2 separate regions of the Homo sapiens genome follow, and region 1 is linked to region 2. Evidence: promoter capture Hi-C in human tissues and cell types (Jung and others, 2019). All regions are on one chromosome and are shown on one strand. The core of a region is centred on a gene start or on the middle of the fragment in contact, and the rest is flanking DNA. Distances in the headings are between cores, read along the strand shown. Region 1 overlaps FBXO21 (F-box protein 21). Region 2 holds the start of RFC5 (replication factor C subunit 5).

Region 1 (6,054 bases), core at 1,295-3,794, 840 kb after region 2:
ACAGGAAAGTCCTTTGAGCATCCAAGCAAAAAAGGTAAAGTCATTTATAAGGAAAAGAAAATAAGAATATCATCAGACTTTTCAACAGAATTTTTTGTGCCAAAGGAAAAAATAGCTTAAGATACTCAATGATCTAAGGAAATGTCAACCAAGGATTTTTATATCCAGCCAAACTGACTTCCAGATACAAAGACTGCACAGAAACTTAACAACTTAACAAGAATTCAGTGACTTTTCAGTCCTTCCTGAGAGATCTCCTGGAAAATGAATTTCAAATGACCAAAAACCACTCCCCGCCCCAAAAAAAACAAAACAGAGAAACACTGATATAAGGACTGGCAGTGAGCACTAAACATGTATTTATTTTTAGATTTAAATTCAAATGAGGGCTCTAGGGGAGAAAATATTTCATGTGTAACGTCTGTAAGACATGTCAGTATAAATACAATGCATCTGTTTTAAAAAATGAATGGACAGTGGGGGAGAACATATGCAAAATATTTAGCTGTTTTCAGTAATCATAAAAGTGATGAGTAATCCCAGCACTTTGGGAGGCTGAGGTAGGCGGATCACAAGGTCAGGAGACTGAGACCATCCTGGCCAACATGGTGAAACCTCGTCTCTACTAAAAATACATAAAAAAAAAAAAATTAGCTTGGTGTGGTGATGCAGCCTGTAATCCCAGCTATTTGGGAGGCTGAGGCAGGAGACTAGGTTGAACCCGGGAGGCGGAGATTGCAGTGAGCTGAGATCGCACCACTGCACTCCAGCCTGGCGACAGAGCGAGACTCCGTCTCAAAAGAAAAAAAAAAGTGATGAAAACATTAGTCTTGTTATTCTGAGGGCTGGTGTGTGTGTATGAGAGAGAGATGTGGAATGAAGTAAATGAATAACGATGTGATATTCTAATTTTACCACCTGTGATATCCTGGAGAAGCAGAATTCTCCTGGAATAAAGAAGACATAGATATAAGATAGAAGAAGGTCAGAGACATATATTTTTGAATTAGAAGTGCCAGTGTGAACTCAAAAGGTATTTTATATTTAAATACATGTAGGTATATGTAAGTGCATGTGCATATGTACATGTACACACACGTGCACATCAACACTAGGCTTCCTACGTCTGTTTGCTGAAAAGATCTAGAAATAATAACCAACCTAGTGGAATTGATCTTCCCTGGTTTCCAGATTGTCATCTTGATACAACATTTTCCACAAAAGAAGCCAGGGTTTTTGGAGAAAGACTGATTGTATGTCCAATGCAAGGATTTTAAAAGATGAGCCTGGTGGTGCATCCTGGAAACCTAACCAGATAGTAAGAAAACTGACACTACTTTATGTCGGAAGTATTGAGGAACCAATATGAAGAGGCTTCCAGTGGCCAAAGATGTGACAGTTAGAGCATCAGTGTGGATAATAACAGGAATGGATTGAAATGCATCGAATATGCTTGTCTCTCTGAGTCCATAATACTAAAAAATTAATTGGTCACCTTTGAAGGATAAATAGAAGCCCATATCATTGTTTTGAAAAATTGTAAATAGAAGATATGAGCATTTATCCTGCCTTTTCCATGTACTGTATCATGGGGGATCAAATAATAGACGGGGAGGTTTTTCCTTATAGAAGTATCCCAGCTAATGAATTAAGAAGGGTTGATTGAATTTTAATATCACCACTTCGTAACCTCAAATGAATGAACAGATCAAGACATTGAGTAGCAGTGCTGCTGACATCACAAAAGAAACACCCAGGCATTATTGCCTCCTGATGGGAGAATGCACTACCTTCTATGAAATTATCTTGCTAAATTAATGGAATCTGTATCTCATGTAGCCTCTACATCCAATTTACAGGAGATCAGAAGACAGAAGAACATGTTAAACTACATCATGTGGGTACAGTCAGCAAATTTCAGACGATGGGAAACTGCAGGTCAAACAACCCAGGTTCTTCAACAAATAAAATGCAAGGGAAAAAAAAAAGATGGAGGAGGATCCTGTAGATTAAGAGATTTAGAAGGCATCAAAACAGACTCGCCTGTTTAGGGATGTATATTTCATGGTAATACTAAAGAGAAAAGCAAGAAAGTGATGACCATAGAGGTGTGGTTTGTGATTATTGTTGCGGGGGGCCCCGGAGGGCTTCTTGGCCGTTTGCAAAGTTTTCTTTCTTGGCAAGAGTGTTAGATCCAGGAATGTGCCTTGTAATGATTCATTAAGCTACTTGTTTGTTTCACACAATTTTCTAGATTGATATATTTTACAACTCAAAGGTTAAAAAGTAGATGAAACATAGATCATTCTGCAGATTTTCATTGACCTCTCTCAAGATTGGCAAGTTGTTTGTTTCTTCATGATGTCAGCCAGATAAGTTTCATCACTGTCTCTCTCCTGCTTCTTATAATCCCCATATGTATTTGGGATATGTGGTGAAGAATTTTATCCACTCAACAAGTGTTATGGAACATCTACTATGTGCCAGATGCTATTCTAGGCACTAGGGATACAGCAGTGAACAACACAAAAAAAATCCCTGCCTTCATGGGGCTTATACTGTAGTGGGCGAGATGGGCACTAAGAAATTGGTTACATTAGAAAATGAAACATGCTATAGAGAAATATAATCGGGGAAGAAGGCAGGGGAGTGGTGAGGGGGTACCATTTAAAATAATGTAGGGGGCCTTACTCAAGGGGACATTTGAGTTGAAACCTAGGAGAAGGTGAGAACAGACTGCAGTCTCTGGAGAGAATGTTCCAGGCAGAAGAACAGGGCACTAAGGTGAGCACCCGCCAGACAGTAAAGGAACAGCTGGAATGCTTGGGTGGCTGGACTGAGGGGGAGTGGCAGGAATTGGGGTCAGAGAGGTAATGGGGCGAGAGTTCAAGAGACCTTTTAAGTCCTCCTTAGGACTTGGGCTTTTTCTTGGAGCGAGGTGGGAAACCGCTGGAGACTTGGAGGCGAGGATTGGGTGGCGTGACCGTACGTGTTACTGCAGTGCTCTGGCTGCCGTATTGAGGATGGACTGTGGAGGGGCCAGGTCTGAAGCGGGAAGCTGAGGTAGGAGGATGTTGCTGCAACACAGGAATGCTGATGGTGGTGTGTGGGAGTAATTGGGAAGTGTGCACATTTTGGATGTAATTTGAAGATAGTACCGATAGCATTGGCTGACAGGTCTTAAGTATGGCTTATGAGAGAAAGCAAGGCATCCAGGATGACTCGCAGGTTTTATGCCTCACTAGAATGATGGAGATGCCTTGATCAGAGATGAGGGTGACTCTGGGAGGGGAAGAAAGATGAAAGTGCTCAGCTATCTGAGTGGGATGTGGAGTAGATGGATAGTAGTTGATACAAAGGTCTAGAGTTCAAGAGAGAACTCTGGTCTGGAAAATAGGAGTTTTCATAATATGTGAAACCGTGAGGAACTCACCATGGCAGTGAGTGCCCAGGCCCAAGTGGCCCAAGCAGGGGGACCAGCAAAAGGTTCTAGATGCCTCCCCATCTTCTGAACCTCCCCCAGCTCAATTCCTTTTTCAGGCTGCTCTTCCATTTCCTTTTATGAAAGATACAGGCAAGTAAGTCTGAAGCCAGGCAGATAACTGTTCCTCAGATTTCAGTACAACTAATTTAGTATTATATTACAATTCAAAGACTGCTATTTCCATTATAATTATTATAAGAGAATGAACCAATTATATTTTTCTTGTTAAGCAAACTACATGGTATGTTAGTGTAATGTGAAAAATAGATAACTGAAAGTTTTCAAATCTTAATTCTTACTGACTTTTTGTTTCCAGAAAAGCTTTGACCTGGAAATACTACGCAAAAAAAATTCTTTACTACCTGCGGCAACAGAAGATCTTAAATAATCTTAAGGCCTTTCTTCAGCAGCCAGATGACTATGAGTCGTATCTTGAAGGTGGGTCTTTTCCCATATATGTGGACAGTAGTATTTCTGTAGGTAACTGATTAGTTTTTTAAGACCAGCAGAGGGAATTGTGTTCCTTGTGGTAAAGAAGTGAAAAAGCAAATCATGTTGCGTGGGCTTCTGCAGGTTGGATTATAGGGCCTGATCAATGAGGTAGTTCAAACTATTAAATTTAGAGCTAAGATTTTATCAAAGTCCACTAAAGAAATAGTGTTTTTTAAAGATGCATCATTGGCTTAAAATGTGAGAGTGATACTTTAGCTAATGAAGTAAATTCCTGTTTTTCCGAGCTTTAATGATCATTTCCAAATCAGAAGTAAATGTATCCAATTTTGTCTCCCTGTGACCTTGAGTAAATCCCTTAACCTCTCAGGTTGGAGTTTATTGAGGACAGAATGTTCTTGGGCATCAGTGAGTCTGCTTGTCCGTAATGAAAGGTGAGAAGGAAGAAGTTGAGTGGACAGGCAAGATGAAGGGAGTGGAGAATCTTTTTGTTCTTATTAAGTTGAACAGGAACAAAGTGAGACTTCCATTTTTTTTAAAATGATTTTGAATTCCTACAATATTACACAAACATTCCCATAAATTATGGTTATGAAATACAAATATGACTGGTCGTTTACTTTTATTCCCTACTTCTGATGTTTTACCAGATTGTTGATTTTTTTTTCCATTCCAGTGTATCTCATAGTCATGTTCCCATTCTGTTACTATTCCTTTTTTTAAAAAAAATGTATTTATTTTTAGAGACGGGGTCTTGCTATGTCACCTATGCTAGATTCAAACTCCCGTGCTCAAGTGCCACCACACCTGGCTGGCTTCTGTAACTAGTCTCATGCAGTCTATGGCCACCTCTCCTGGCAACAACTTTCTGAGTAATACTTGCTTTCATGAACATTACCCCCCCTTCCCTCCAAGTCAGCCAAAATACCAGTGCCAGCCCCATTAGAAATCTAGCCTTCACCACTGCATGTGAAACCTGCAATGTGGACAACTGATTTCCCTTTTATATTTAACCTCTACCTGCTTTTCAATGCCCTGCATAATCTGGTCCAGACCTTTGCTCCGTACTCTCCAGGATGTCCCATTTGCTCCAGCCAGGCCATTGTCTAGACTGGTGCCCCACAAATACACCTGGCTTCACTTCCTCATTCATGATATCCCTCCTTCTCATAATCCCTCTTGAAAATCCTACTCCCCCTCCATAATTCAGCTCAAGCCTCACTTCCATTAAATTTCCACTGACTACTTGGAGATTTTACTCACCTCAGAGCTACAGTAGCATTTAATAGTAAGCTGTCTTGCATTTTTTCTGTTTCCTGTGTATACATTTGTTTCTGTAACTAGTCCCTAAGCTTCCCGTGTTGTGGTCCTTGTGTTAGGATCACTGTATACCTCACAATGCTTAGTGTAAATGTTTATCAAGTGTATGAAAACCTAGTATCATCCAAAAGGAAATGAAACATCTGTTTCAGTTGATTAAAATAAATTCTCACTGCTAGAATCCCCTCATTTGTATACTGGAGTTGAGAAGCATCCTATCTTCTGTTTATTTCACAGTTAAGAATAGTATATTTTTTTGTAGCTTATGTATGAAAACAAATACTCCTTTTTCATTTTCTAAATACAAAGTTATAATTTTCAAAGAACTTCCACATCAGTGTCATAAGCATTGAGAAGCCATTGGAAGTTGTTTAGTAGTTGAGTGAATGACAGTTGGCTCTCCAAGTTTCTGATCCTTGGTGACTGACTGGAATAATGCTGATGCCATCGAAGAAGTCTGGGAATCATAGCATTAGGAAGGAACGGACTTCAGAAATGTGCAGCATAAACTGCTTCAGCTTCCAGGTAGGGAAGCTGGGGCCCTCGGAGGCCGAGGAGACAGTCCCTGGCTGGTGGCAACACTGGGACTGGGGTCGAGGTGTCTTGACACCCGTTCAACTGCTTTGAGCTCTGGAGCATTGGTAAGGGAGTCCAGGTTCTGAGCTGGTCTGAGATCTCTTTAATTTAAGGTGACTCGAGAGCTTCCCACATAACGGTGTCCTTACCCAAATGATGCTGTTAGCCCTTCAGTCTCTGCTTCCAAAATTACCTAAGACTGTGAAGAGGAGTGATTCTTAAGA
Region 2 (6,285 bases), core at 2,474-4,973:
AATGCAGCAATTTGAAGAGAATTAAACAAGATCTTTTTAAAGGTGTGATATAGGAAAACCATGGGGCTATGCAATACCTGTCACCCTTGAGCCTGAAGGGCTTAGTGAAGGGAGTGGCTGTAGGCACCTGGAGAGGGCTGCAGGAAAGGTACCACCTGTGAGATGTACCCTACAGGTGGGCCATGCTGCCAGCCTGTGTCAGCCCCCAGGGAAGGCCCAGGCATCACTCACTTCCTTCCCCCACCCCTGCCAAGGCCCCTATTGGCCAAACCCAACCAGGAGCCAGAGGGTAAGTGAGCTTATAGTCAGTAGGGCTCAGCCTTCCAGGCAGGAATATGGTGGAGAAACGTGGAGAATTGATCTAGAGGGGCCATGGCAGACAGGCAGCAACCAAGTCACCATAAAGTAAGGTTTGGGGAGAAGTTGGCAAGAGCAAAGAAAAAGGTGCCAAACCCTACAACTGCCCTCTAGCTGACCAACGCTAATCCAGACCAAAATGACCATTATAGGAAAAAGGGAATTAAAATATTCAAATTTACTTCTTTCCTAACTGTCCGTGGGGCAACTTACTTTTAAAGTAAAATAAAACCAGCAGAACTGAAATTAAGAGACTGGAGTCTCTTAAGTTATTTGTAGAGTAAGAACAATCTTATTTACCTCCAAGACCATGGAGCCAAATTCTTTGTCTTTATATAGCTGTTTCGCACAGGCTAGGATGGTAGATGTCTTGCCTGTCCCTGGGGGACCGTAGAGAAGCAAGTGTGGCAGTCGGTCTTCATTGATAAACTTCTGAACTGAGGATCAGGAAGGAAGAAGGGCACCATCAGTCTTTGGGAGCTGCCTCATTCACCCTGGGCTCCTGAGTTGGGCTGAAAGCTCTTCAACCCAATTCAATGTCCAAATCAGAGGCAGATACAACTTGATGTAGGGGCCTCATATCTACTTTCGTGGAACAACTGGAATTCACTCAATAGCGCAGCCAGTCAACAAGTATTTATTGAGTGCCTACTGTGTTACAGGCACCTTTCTGGGTGCTGGCAACATCTGTGAACTTAAATGATTCTCCGTAATGCTATTTTTACTCCACTGTGTTGCAATTTTATGCTCATGTTTGTGACTTACCCACTGGACTGTAGCAACCTGAAGAAAATGAATGAATGATCTTAAAGCCACATTCTACAAAGCGCAATCAGATTCTTTGAAGTTATTACTTAGGAGAGACAACATCACCAAGCAATTTATACAAGTCGCTCAAGCAGGACAAGAGCAACTGACACATGAATACTTACTGGTACTCAGAATGTCCTGATGAGAAATGAGATCATTCAGGGTCTGTGGCCGGTATTTTTCAACCCTGAAATACAATTTAGTATGTATTATGACATATATAAATGCAAGAATATTTTATGTGCAAAAGAATCCTTGCAGGTCAGGCACAGTGGCTCATGCCTGTAATCCCAGCACTTTGGGAGGCCAAGGTGGGTGGATCATTTGGGGTCAGGAGTTCAAGACCAACCAGCCCGGCCAACATGGCAAAACCCTGTCTCTATGGGTACCTCCTAGGGTCTTTGTAAGGATAGAACAACTAACAGGGTGTCTGCTAACCCGATAATATGCCATTCAATAAAAAATACCAAAAAATACAAAAATTAGCTGGGCATGGTGGCATACCCCTGTAGCCCCAGCTACCCCGAAGGCTGGGGTGGGAGAATTGCTGGAACCCGGGAGGCGGAGGTTGCAGTGAACCGAGATTGCACCACTGCACTCCAGCACTCCAGCCTGGGCGACAGAGTGAGACCTTGTCTTAAAAAAAAAAACAGAATCCTTTCATATCCTAATTTAAAAAGGAAGAATAAGAAAGCACTTTAAGTTTGAACAGACCAGTGGTTCCCAACCACAGGTGATTTTGTCTTCCTAGGAACATCTAGTGATATCTAGAAACATACTTAGTTGTCACAGGTGGGCAGAGGGTCCTATGGCACTCAGTGTGTAGTCTCCAGGAATGCTGTTAAACATGCTACAGTGCACAGGACAGCTCCCCTAAACCCACCCAGAGTATCTGGCCCAAAATGTCAATAGTGCTGAGGTTGAAAACTCTGTTCTAACTTCATCTTTCCAGCTGTTTGCCTATAATCTCAACCTGATGGGCACCTACTATTGCAAAGTGCATTTGAAACTGAACTCCTACCCAAATAGACTTCAACAGAAGAATGGATAGGTAAAATCTCTTCTGTCCATACAATGGAATATGATTCAGCCATAACAAGAAATTAACTACTGATACAAGCAGCAACATGCATGAACCTTGAAAACATGATCCTGAGTGAAAGAAACCAGACACAAAAGGCCACATAGTGTAGGATTCCACTTACATGAAATGTCCAGAATAGGCAAATCCATAGATAGAAAGCAGATTAGTGGTTGCCAGGGGCTAGAGGAAGGGGAGAATGGGGAGTAACTGTCAATGGGTAAAGGATTTCCATTTGGGGTGATGAAATTTTGGAACTAGATAGCGGGAAGACTCCACAACAGTACACTGCATTCTGAATGTACTTAATGCCACTGAATTGTACATTTTAAAATGGTTACAGGATGGGCTTGGTAGCTCGCCTCTAAAAGTCCCAGTTCTTCGGAGGCTGAGGCAGGAGAATGGCTTGAACCCCAATGTTTGAGGTTACACTGAGCTGTGATCACACCACTGCGCTCCAGCATGGGCGACAGAGCGAGACCCTGTCTCTAAAAAAAAAAAATACGTAAATACATAAAATAGTTACAACTGTCAATCTTCTGGGTTTTTTTTAACCACAATAAAGACAAATTGAACTAGTTACTAGACAATGACAACTTGCAGCTTTTCGAAGCCAAGCCAAATTGCTTCAAAGTCTTGGAAGCATTGCGAGAACATAGCTGTTTAAGTAGGATGGTTAAGAGTACAAGATCTGAATTCAGACTTCCTAGATTCACCTCCAAGCCAATTTTCTCCCTTGGACCATAGGGAAGTCATTACATCTTTCTAAAATGCAGTTTCCTCCTGTGTAAAATTTGAAGCGGTGCCTACCTCCTACGGTCTTTGTAAGGATCGAACATCTAACAGGGCGTCTGCTAATCTAATAATATGCCATTCAATAAAAGTTGACCAGGGAGCGTTATTACTAGTTTAAAATGTGACCAATAGTCGCATCGCAGGTTTTGAAGAGTGGGAAGAGGGCATTTTGGCATGGAGGCCATTGCAGGCGTCAGGAGACGCGGGATCGAACCCCTGTGCTGTCACCAGGTGCGAAAGCCGCCTTCTTCTTCGGCAAATGGAGCTGGGGGTGAAAGGGTGAGAACTGGCAAAAGCCCTAAACAGAACGGACGAGTCTGGGTAGCTGGGGGGTGTCGGGGGAAACCTCTGCAGGTCGGTCCCGGCTGCAGGCCTGGAGACGACGGGAAGAGGTCGGGTTGGGGTCCGGTCACCTGCCACCCCAGCCACCTCCTCCCCGCGCGGCCGCCTGGCCCCCTCTGCCCACCGCCGCCGCTCGGCCTCCTCCTACCAGGGCAGGTTCCTGATCTTGGTCGCCGCGGGCTGCTCCTGCTGCTTGAGTGCTGAGGTCTCCATGGCGGGGAGACGAAGGTGACCAGATCCGCTGAGATCGTCGCGTCACCCAAGCGCCTGCACAGTGACCAGCCGCGACCTGACCCTGAGACCCTGGCACTTACAGTTCGCGCGCAAAAGCAACTCTCGCGAGACGCGGCCACCAGTTTCCGACTTCCTCCCTCGGTCCCGCCCCCTCGCGTTGCTAGGGCGTCGGTTGCTAGGTTACCGGAGGCGCGGGCCGCCAGCGTCCCTCCAAGCTCCGCCCCTCCAGCCTGCTCTGAACTCTCAGATACCCAGGCGCTTCCAGAGCAGGGCAGCGGGAGAGGCAGGGCCCCCTGCAGCCCCAGTCATCATTACATATTAAGATCTCAAGGCCAAAGCCAATTCCTGCCATCGCCAAGCTTCAAACACTTAAATTCAAAGGAACAAAAGCTGCCGGGGCTCAAAAAAAAAAAAAAAAATCTAAGAAAAAAAACAACACCGAGTAAAACGGCTGGGTCTTGAATATAGATGCCTTTGCGAAAGAAGGCTTGAGATACCTCTCGGCCCCCAAGCTGGGAGGTGAATATTTGGAAATGAAAACAACCCCAAACAAACACAACTGCAACCTACCTATCTCCGGAATCCGTGCCCCTCGCCCAAAAAGTTTAGGGAACCAACCTCCAGAAAACGACTCCAGAGAAAAACAAACAGAAACTTCCAGTTGGGTTAATCTGTGTCGCTGGAAGGTCTAGTTCATGAACACAGAGGACAAGGTCCTTGTGATCTGAGATACTGAGGAGAATCGATATCAACATTTTAGGTTTTTTTCCTGAGGCGAGGAGAATTCTAGATCACTTTTATTTTCTTCTTTTTTGTTGGTCTGTATTTTCTTTTCTTTTTTTTGGTGTCTTGCTCTGTCACCCAGGCTGGAGTGCAGTGGCGCTATCTCGGCTCACTGCAACCTCTGCCTCCCGGGTTCAAGCGATTCTCTGCCTCAACCTCCGGAGAAGCTGGGATTACAGGCGCGCGCCACCACGCCTGGCTAATTTTTGTATTTTTAGTAGAGATGGGATTTTGCCATGTTGGATAGGCTGGTCTCGAATTCCTGACCTCAAGTGATCCACCCGCCTCAGCCTCCCAAAGTGCTGGGATTACAGGCGTGAGCCACTGCGCCTGGCCTGGTCTGTATTTTCCAGCAATGAGCATGCAAAGCATCCATATTGAAGTCTTTTCTTTTTTTTTTTCTTTTAACATGATGAGGAAGACAAAAATCCTGGAGGATTTTTGAGGCTGGCCTGGGGTCAGCAGTGTTCTGATTAGGAGGTAGCAATACTCTTTGCATAGGATTACATCACTGTCACCTGCTTCAGGAACACAGCAGAGGGACAGTGGCAAGTATGTGATGGCAGTTATGGCTTCACCCTAGCCCCTGCCTGGGGACCCCGAAGAAGGGGATCAGCTAGGGCTTGTGATGTGACAGTGCCCCTACTCTGCTTGCTCCCAGGAAACTTTAACACTGGGGGCTTAGATCATTAGCATGCCATTTTTAAACTTTTCTTTCTTTCTTTTAAGATAAAACTGGTTTTATTCATTTTTATCTCCAGGAAGGGAATCATAAATGATTAACAAGTTTTTCTTAAATACTAAGGCTAAAAATCAGCACATGTTTACAATTAATTTGCTGACACATGCTGAGGTGAGATATAGATGCCTCTGAATTAAAGTTATAGAAACACATTAAATATTTGTCATGTATTGCCAAATTCTGGGGTCTTTGAACACTCCTGGGGTTTTGTTCTGTTTCGTTTTTGAGAGAAGGTCTCACTATGTCACCCAGGCTGGAGTGCAGTGGCACAATCACGGCTCACTACACTCTCTAACTCCCCGGCTCAAGTGATCTGCCTGCCTTGGGCCTCTTAAAGTGCTGGGATTATTGGCATGAGCCACTACACCCAGCCCACTTCTGTTTTTTAAAAGGCATAAAATACAAGTGATGGGTATAAAAATAAAGGAAAACAGCTGATACAATTTTAGAAAACAACTGATACAATAACTAAGCAAAATTATGAAAGATTACTAAAGAAATAAATGGTGCTATACCCTCCTCACCAACGATCTAATTGTTGAGACGCAGGCTTCACACTGGGGTAAAATCCTAAAGGGTGGCTGATATGGTTTGGCTCTGTTTCTCCACTCAAATCTCATCTTGAATTGTAATCCCCAGGTGTCCAGGAAGAGAGGTGAGTGGATCATGGGAGCGGTTTCCCCCATGCAGTTCTTGTGATAGTCAGTGAGTTCTTACAAGATCTGATGGTTTGATAAAGAGCTCTTCCTACTTCACTCTTTCTTCTCTCTCCTGCCGCCTTGTGAAGAAGGTGCCTGTTTCCCCTTCGCCTTCCACCATGATTGTAAGTTTCCTGAGGCCTTCCCAGCCATGTAGAACTGTGAGTCAATTAAATCTCTTTCCTTTATAAATTACCCAGTCTTGGGTATTTCTTTATAGCAGTATGAAAATGGACTAATACAGTGGCTTTTGAAACTAAAGGAGAAGTCATCAAGAAAGCATTGCTTTGGGTGTCAGAAGACCTGCCTCGAATCAGTTCAACTCTAAAAATCTTTACACAGCCTATGGAGAGAAACCTAAGCAAGTCCCCAAATCCTCAAGTGTTCCAGGAGAATGAAAAGAATTATAAAGGCTAAAGAATTATTAGAATCAGTGCAGTGAA

The links. The method cuts DNA at HindIII sites, captures the fragments that hold promoters and counts their contacts. A contact is called where the count stands out against the background at its distance.
Region 1: a contact is called between a fragment that was not itself captured here and the fragment with the promoter of RFC5 in region 2, in 1 of the 25 tissues and cell types used here (IMR-90 fibroblasts).

Annotation. Positions count from the first base shown.
Region 1 is chr12:117,175,388-117,181,441 of GRCh38, reverse strand. It overlaps FBXO21 (F-box protein 21), which reads left to right. Exons shown (of 12, transcript NM_015002.3): 4 at 3,801-3,922. Among named protein-coding and RNA genes, the nearest start is that of FBXO21, 12 kb to the left of the region's middle. The HindIII fragment of the contact is 9,040 bases long and covers 1-6,054 here.
Region 2 is chr12:118,014,141-118,020,425 of GRCh38, reverse strand. RFC5 (replication factor C subunit 5) reads right to left here and starts at 3,723. Exons shown (of 11, transcript NM_007370.7): 1 at 3,534-3,723; 2 at 1,290-1,354; 3 at 658-794. The coding sequence starts at 3,598. RefSeq lists a silencer at 3,432-3,481 and enhancers at 3,846-4,015, 6,223-6,285. The HindIII fragment of the contact is 13,218 bases long and covers 822-6,285 here.